Regions from separate parts of the Homo sapiens genome. Here region 2 is linked to region 1. The links are contacts of gene promoters, found by promoter capture Hi-C in blood cells and fetal thymus (Javierre and others, 2016). All regions are on one chromosome and are shown on one strand. The core of a region is centred on a gene start or on the middle of the fragment in contact, and the rest is flanking DNA. Distances in the headings are between cores, read along the strand shown. Region 1 holds the start of EXOC3L4 (exocyst complex component 3 like 4). Region 2 holds the start of TRAF3 (TNF receptor associated factor 3).

Region 1 (3,874 bases), core at 1,008-3,507:
AAGAAGCACAGCTCCATCCTTAGCTTGGCATTCAAGGCCTCTCCTAATGACCCCTCTGGCTTCAGTCCCAACTCATTCCCTCACTCTGATCACTCAGAAGTACCCACCTCTCCTCCACACCTTTGCACAGGCCATCCTCTCTGCCTACAATGACCTCAGCCCCTCCTTCTTCAGTTGTCAACTCATTGAAGGCTCAGCAGAAATGGCTCCTCCCCCAAGAAGCCTTCCCGGACCAGCTGAGCCCATACCATGTTCGGCACCTCCTGCTGTGGGCCTGATCCCAGCCCTGGGCACACCTGCCATGACGGAGGGACAGTTACAGAGCCTGGAGACCAGGAGACCCGCAAGGCAGGGAGTGAGCCTGACTCAGCCCCCAGCCATGGCTAGTACTCGGCACTTTCCCGGGGAAACCAGGAAAGTGAATCTGATGCCTGAGCTTGAGCGCGCGGGCATATACACACTTTTCTGGGCGTCGGTTTTGCACATCTGTGTGTTGGCCTGAGAGTGTCTCCCTGTATGTGCATGACTCTGCCCTGGAGTGTCCCCAGAGGGTCTGCCAGTGCTTCTGAGTCTGTGTCTGTGCCTGCATGCCCATCTTGGTGTCTTCTGTGTCTGTCTATCTGTGCTTTCTACCTGAGTGTGTCTGCCTGTGTATCGGGTGTGTGTGTGTCCACTGTGATTTGCGCTGGCCCTCTGGCCTGGTCGGCCTGGGCTCTGAGTGAGGCCCTTGGCCTGGAAGGCCACACGCAGAGCCGGAATGGTCCTCAAGCCCGCCCACAGCACCCCATGCCCTCCTGCTCCACCTGCCCAGAACATACCTGCTGAGCACGCAGCCTTGGCCCAGGAAGAACACAGCCCCCTGAGAAGCTGGCCCGTGGGGCCCTCAGAGCCGGGCCCTGGCTATGGGGCCTCTAGAGCAGCCTGAGCGAGTGACCAACAGCTGGGACTTCCCAGCCATGGTCAGCGCCTGCCAGGCCCACCCGGCCCCACCCACAGCCCTACCCTCCACCAGGACCCCATACTTTCACTTTCAGAGAAGTTCCCACTTCCTTTTCGTTCCGGAGGCAGTCACTCCAGCTTTCCATTCCAGACAGCTCAGGGCTCAGTCCAAGGGTCAGAGAACAAGGGAGGGGAAGGCTGCGGAGCTCGGCACTCAGGGTCTCGAGGCAGCAGGGGGTGGACGCTGCCTGCCACCCAAAACACCACCAACCTCTCCTTTGCTCAGAGGCCAGCGGAAGCAGGCGCTGGCCTCGGGGGACACTCAGCCCACAGTGCCGGAGCCCAGAAGGACCCCTCCCTCCAGGACAGAGGCTCTAGCACTGGGCCAGTCCATCGAGTTCATCCCGAGACCCCTGCACCCTGCCTGTCAGGGAAGCTCACGGTGACAGCAAAGGCAGCAGTTGAGAGCCACATGCCATTCCTGGGGGCTTCAGGAGCTAGAGAAAGGGATGGGGCCCTAGGGACAGACAGGACACACTCAGAAGTGAGAAGGGACGGCATCCTGGGCAGGGGCAAAGATGTGGAGGCGGGGCCCCACTCCCCACACCAGGGGGTCAGGCGGGCAACGTGCCGCAGGGAGGGCCACTGACACTTCCCAGAAGAGGCAGCCTCACCCCTGCATAGGGGGATTCCGCAGCGAGCGTCTTAGGAAACAACTCAGGGAAAATCCAAGGAGAACGGATCCAGGCCTGTCCCAACCTGGGCTGGGGCCACCAGGGTGTGTGATGGGGCTGCTGCAGGGTGCTGAGGTGGGCAGAAATAGCCTCCTGCACCAGCATCCTCTGGCTGAGGGCAGAGGTGGCCCCGTGCAGCAGCATCCTAGGACTGAGGGCAGGGAAGGCCCCATGCACCCAGTGTCCTAGGGCTGAGGGCAGAGACAGGCCGGTGCACCAGCATCCTAGGACTGAGGGCAGGGACGGCCCCATGCACCCACTGTCCTAGGGCTGAGGGCAGAGACAGGCCAGTGCACCAGCATCCTAGGGCTGAGGGCAGGGACGGCCCCATGCATCCAGTGTCCTAGGGCTGCCACGACAGGACCAGGGACTGAGCCTCAACAACAGACGTTTATTCTCTCCCAGTTCTGGAAGCCAGAGGCCCACAGTCAAGGCATGTGTGGGGCTGGTTTCTCCTGGGGCTGTTTTCTGGGTCTGTGGGTAGCGCCCCCCCTTCTTCCTGGGTCAACACAGGGCCTTCCCACTTCGTGTCTGTGTCCATATTTCCTCTTCATATGGGTTGGGGTCCACCCGAATGACTTAATTTTAACTTATTACCTCTTTAAAGGTCACGTGTTTTTATAAGGAATTTTCCAAATAAGGTCACATTCTAAGATTGGGACTTCAACATACGAATTTTTTTTTTTTTTGGAGACGGAGTCTCTCTCTGTCACCCAGGCTGAAGTACAGTGGCGCGATCTCAGCTCACTGCAACCTCTGCCTCCTGGATTCAAGTGATTCTCCTGGATTCAAGTGATTCTCCTGCCTCAGCCTCCTGAGTAGCTGTGATTACAGGCACGCACCACCACACCCGGCTAATTTTTGTATTTTTAGTAGAGTCGGGGTTTCACCATGTTGGCCAGGCTGGTCTTGAACTCCTGACCTCAGGTGATTGGACTGCCTAGGCCTCCCAAAGTGCTGGGATTACAGGCGTGAGCCACCGCGCCCAGCCCAACATACGAATTTTATGGGGGAAAAGCAGCCCATAACAGACTGGAAGGTGCCTGAGATGCTGCAGCACCATCTGCAGAGGGGCCAAATTAGACTCAAAGATGCCAGCACCTCCTCCAGGAAGCCCTCCAATTAACCACTTGAGTCACTACCCTGAGCCCTGGGTTCCCTCTGTGAAGTGGGGTGCTAAGAGTCCCACTTCAAGCCCGAGAGGTGCCCAGCAGCCCATAGGCCCTTCCTCCCAGCCCAGTCCCACCTGCTGGCCTGAGTCCCACCCCACCTGTCTCCAACAGGCAGAGATGAGGGGTAACAGGGAATAAGCAAAACTGAGCAGAGACAGCCGGGGTCCAAGGTGGCTGGCTCCCCAGGGCTCAGTGACCTGCTCTCGGCCACACAGGTGCCCAGAGAGGCCAGGACTGCGACCTAGGTCTCTGGCTCTGTGGACTGGGTCTTCCCATACAGCCAGGCCTTGGTGGACTGGAGACTTCCCGGTCTAATTCTCCCACCCGCCCCCCAGCTCCCAGGGCATGTTGGGGTCCTGGGACCTCCAATTATGGGTCGCTCCATTCAATACACAGGTGCCTGAAAAGCTGGTGGTGCCCAGGGCCTGGGGACTGCTCCTGGAAGTCCCCTCAACTCCCATCTGCTCTCCACAGGCACCTGAGCCTGTGCCCGCTTTTCAGCATGAGGTTGCAATGTTTCTTTCATGCTATGTCCATGTTTTCCCGAAGTTTCTCAGTAAAATCCCTTTGGAAAAACCCCAGCCTTATCTCAAAGAAGCCTGGGTCACGAGGTTGGTCTGGGGTCAGGAGAAGGCCGGGTGGGGAGCCGTTAGGAGGGAGAGGCCTAGCCAGGGACACCCACCAGAGGGCAAGCCCAGCTCCCCACGACCTTGGAGAGGCACCTCAATCTCTGAGCCCCAGTTTACTCCTCCAGAAAATGGGATTGTCGTCGGGATCAAATGGGTTCACCTTGGCTGAGGACCTGGCTCCCAGGTAGGGAAGGCCAGGGAGCAGGACCCCCACCACCAAATGCTTGCCTGATCTGGGGCTCACTGAGAGGCCAGGCTGTCACACCCGGGGTGTAGAAGCCAGAGGCGGCCGCTTCCACCCTCACTGCTGCCGGGACCAGCGTTAAGCGCAGCGTGAGCACCCAGAGGCCCAGGCTCCCTCCCTAACCGGAAGCGGCTGCGGGCAGCGGGCAGCAGACCA
Region 2 (3,874 bases), core at 426-2,925, 320 kb after region 1:
TCTGTCAGGGTTTCCGTCATGAGCACCCACTCACAGGATTTCCAGTCCCATGTGATGTTTTCCAGTTTTCATATCGATAAGGCTTATCTTGTTTTGGCCAAAGAATTTTCATCTTTAGACTAATTCTTAACATTTACATTGTCACAACGCGGCGAAAAGGTACACATTTCCTCTCATTTGAGAAAAGAACGCTGTACACTATTTTGCCAGACATCCTACATATGATGCAGTCTGTTCACAGGCCATTTTCAAAGACGTGAGAGACATGAGAAGATCTCAGGACGAACTGATGGTCCACTTGGCCATTCCCTACAGTAAGAATTTTATAGACAAATACAGGGTAACAGCAAACAACATTTCCAAACGCTCCGGCAGTGTGTAGTCGCAGCAAATGCTAGGAAAAAAAATAAATAATGGCTCCTCTTCAGTTGTATGCCGTGAATGTAAATTAAGAAGCCGCTACAACGCTCGACATAACCTTTCTGACGCCACAAAAATGAATGAATTATATCCATACACACACACAGGCACACACACCACGCACCACGCATCACATGTCATTCTGAAAACTGATTCTGAGCTTAATTCGAAAAACGTGAAATACAACTGGTCCCGTCAACAGCTCGTAATCTGAAGGTTTCTTGCATTTCCAAGCACGTCCATAACACCTCATCCGTTTCCAGTTTGTTACTGTTTCCAACCGAAGGGAGAGAATTTTCCACACAGAATTATCTCCTCGGGTCCAAATACTAGACCGAAGTCCCCACACGGGGCTGGCTGGCGGCGTGGAACCGGCCAGCCCGCCGAGAGCCGCCTGGCGCCCGCGGGGAAGACGCAGAGCCCGCGGCCAGGAGCCGCCCGGTGCCCCGGGAGTCGCCGGCCCTCGGCGGCCGCGCGAGGGGGATTCGCGCCCTCTGCCCATACCCGGACCCCCGCGCCGCCCGCCAAGCGGTCGGAGGCGCCTCTGAGGCGGAATGACTCAGGACCAACTTTCCAATAACGCCCGGGCCCCCCCGGCCGGCCCGGGCAGCGCGCTCGGCCACGCAGCCCCTGAGCCGCCCGTCCCCCCGCGTGAAACCCGCGGCCCCGCGGGGTGCCGGGTCCTCAACGCCAGCGGGGGTCACGGCCGTAGCGAGGCCTGCGCGCCCCGTTTCCTGAAAAGGTGCGGGCGCCCCGGCCCCCTCGGGCCCCGAGCCCGGCCTCCGGGACAAAGTTTGCCGAAGTTGAGGCGTCCGGAGGCGGGAGGCAGCCCGGCTGGGGCGCGGGGCCAGGCTGAAGCCGCGCCCCGCCGTCGCCGCTGGGACGGGCCGGGCCTGCGCCGCGCCGGGCCCGCGCCGGGCAGCCCCGAGGCCCCCGGGCCCCGCCGCCCAGGGCGCGGGATGGAGGCGACGGGGATGGAGGCGCCCGGCCGCGCGCCGGAGGCCCGCCCGCCCGCCGCGGCCCCTTACCTCGCGGTCCGTCGCCGCTCGGCCGGCTCAGGGGCGCCGGGCGCGTCCTCCGCCGCGGTCCGCAGCGTTCTGCTCCCCGGGCTGCCCCATGGCGGGGGGCGGGGAAGAGCCGGCGGCCGCCGCGGCTGCCGCCGGCTGGAAAGTCCCGGCTGGGCTGCAACCCCGGCTCGCGCACGCGGCGGCCGCGCCGCGCTCCCTCGCTCCCTCGCTCCCTCACGCAGCCCCGCGCAGGCACTTCCTCTCGCGCGCTGGAAATCCCCGGCGCGCCCGCCGCCCCGCCCCCGCCGCCCGCGCGCGTGGGAGCGGCAGGAGCCCGCGAGCGCCGCCGGCCCCACGCGCCCGCCGGCCCCCCGCGCGCGCCCGCGACCCGTTGCTAAGGGCCCTAGCGCCCGGCGGCCGCCCGCCCGGCCTTAGCAACGGCGGCGCCGCGGCGCGGGGCGGGGACGGCCCCGGGCGCCCCCCGCCTCCCTCCCGTCCCCGCCGCGCGCCCCGCGGGCCTCCTCGCTCTGCGCCGCCCCCGCCGCGCCCCCGCCGCCGCGCGTCCCCGCGTCCCCGCCTTTCCGGGTCAAAAAGCCACGCAGGCCGCGTGGGGGCCGAGAGGTGCTGGCGCCGCTCCTCCCCGCGGCCACCTCGCCCGCACCCCCCACGCCAGCATAGCATACGCAGCCCCCGTGCGTGCACGCCCGTGTGCCCATGGCCACACGCGACCCCTACGCACACGCACGGGTCCGATATGCGGCCCCCCGCACTGTCGCGGACGCATACACGACGGTCACATTCCCCTCAAGCGGACACGCACACACACGCTCACCAACACCGTGCGCACGCGTACCAGGCCACGCACCCTCGCGCACACGCAGGTGGGGCTGAGGGTGACTCAGGCCGTGGAGCCCCTTTTCGCATGCAGAGGGCAGGGCTCCACATTAGTTTGGTGGCACTTTCCTTTCTCCCTCCCTTGGACCCTCCCACGCCCCCGGAGTGGTGTCTTGCTCACGGGTGGACAGGGTAGCCAGTTTGCCACGTGCCCCCAGCGTCCTCGGCGGTCCTGGCTGCCCCTGCGCCCCCTGCACCCTCCACCAGGCCGCTGGGGCCTGCGCATTTCTCCCGAGGCCTCTGCCTTCTGCCCCAAAGGCATCAGTGGTGTGTCAGTGATTCACCTAGGCCCACCAAGGCAGCACCCAGCCTGGCTGGGCCTGGCGAGGTGGGAAGCGAAGGGAGGGCTTCTGGGAGGCTCTGGGCCAGCTGAGGGGTGAGGCCTTCGCTGGAGTTTGCAAGTCAGTGGTGAGGGGACAGAAAGGACTTTGCATTTTTCACTTCTCAAGAAGGCTTATAAAGAGCCCTACCCCAGAGCTGAGACCAGTGTGAGTAGCCAAGGCCAGTCTGCCTTCTTGTATTGCTCCAGTGACTCATGTGAGTGGAGGCAGGAAGTCCAGCATCTCCTCCTACAGCTTCACCCATGGAACGTTCCAGAACCCCAGATAGTCCGACCTGGCTGCTGGAAGTCTATCTGGACATCAGAGACATTGGACCATGTCTCTGGCTCCATTAGCCCAACAGATGCTTGTTCTACAGCCACACTCACCAGGCCACAGTGGCACCCCCGTCTGCGCCACAGGCACAGCTCTTTTAGAGGTGACAGGCCCGCCTTCGCCGTCCCTCACAGGGACCTATGGACTCCAGCGGTCTCCCCCACCCCCATGGTGGACTCCCCTTGGGAGCCTCAGGTGCCCTTTCTTGCCTGTCAGGAGTTGGGATGTTACTGACCTCAGGCTCAGGGTCCCAACCACTTCCCATAGCCCAGGCACTGAGGCCTCCCATGTCCCCAGCCCTGCTTAGCCCACAGTCCTGGCACCCTGTCGACTGGGGCCCACTCCCAACGCCTGCCTTATGCTGTGTGTTACCTATGGCCTGGTTTAACTTTGCCAAAATCAGGAAAGACTCCCTTTCCTAGGCTGGACTATTTTTGGTTGTTTTAAAAGAAGCAGGACATGGACCGGGCATGGTGGCTCACACCTGTAATTGCAGCACTTTGGGAGGCCGCGGGCAGGCAAGTCACCTGAGGTCAGGAGTTCGAGACCAGCCTGGCCAACATGGTGAAACCACGTCTCTACTAAAAACACAAAAATCAGCCGGGCGTGGTGGAGTGTGCCTGTAATCCCAGCTACCCAGGAGGTTGAGGCAAGAGAATCACTTGAACCCAGGAGGCGGAGGTTACAGTGAGCTGAGATTGTGCCATTGTACTCCTATCTGGGCGACAGAGTGAGACTCTGTCTGGAAAAAAAAAAAAAAAGTAGGATGGTGGCTTATGCCTGTGGTCCCAGCACTTTGGGAGGCTGAGGCGGGAGGATCGCTTGAGTCCATGAGGTTGAAGCTGCTGTGAGCCATGATGGCACCACTGGACTCCAGTCTGGGCAACAGAGCGAGAC

The links. The method cuts DNA at HindIII sites, captures the fragments that hold promoters and counts their contacts. A CHiCAGO score of 5 or more calls a contact.
Region 2: the fragment with the promoter of TRAF3 here is called in contact with a fragment that was not itself captured in region 1 in 1 of 17 cell types (total B cells); the score reaches 5.3 in total B cells.

The regions. Positions count from the first base shown.
Region 1 is chr14:103,091,785-103,095,658 of GRCh38, reverse strand. It overlaps EXOC3L4 (exocyst complex component 3 like 4), which reads right to left and starts at 934. Exons shown (of 12, transcript NM_001077594.2): 1 at 819-934. RefSeq lists enhancers at 356-925, 1,496-2,065, 3,539-3,718 and a silencer at 3,859-3,874. The HindIII fragment of the contact is 5,265 bases long and covers 1-3,874 here.
Region 2 is chr14:102,775,250-102,779,123 of GRCh38, reverse strand. TRAF3 (TNF receptor associated factor 3) reads right to left here and starts at 1,675. Exons shown (of 12, transcript NM_145725.3): 1 at 1,449-1,675. RefSeq lists silencers at 833-892, 1,133-1,182, 1,393-2,002, 2,093-2,152 and an enhancer at 2,863-3,102. The HindIII fragment of the contact is 6,975 bases long and covers 1-3,874 here.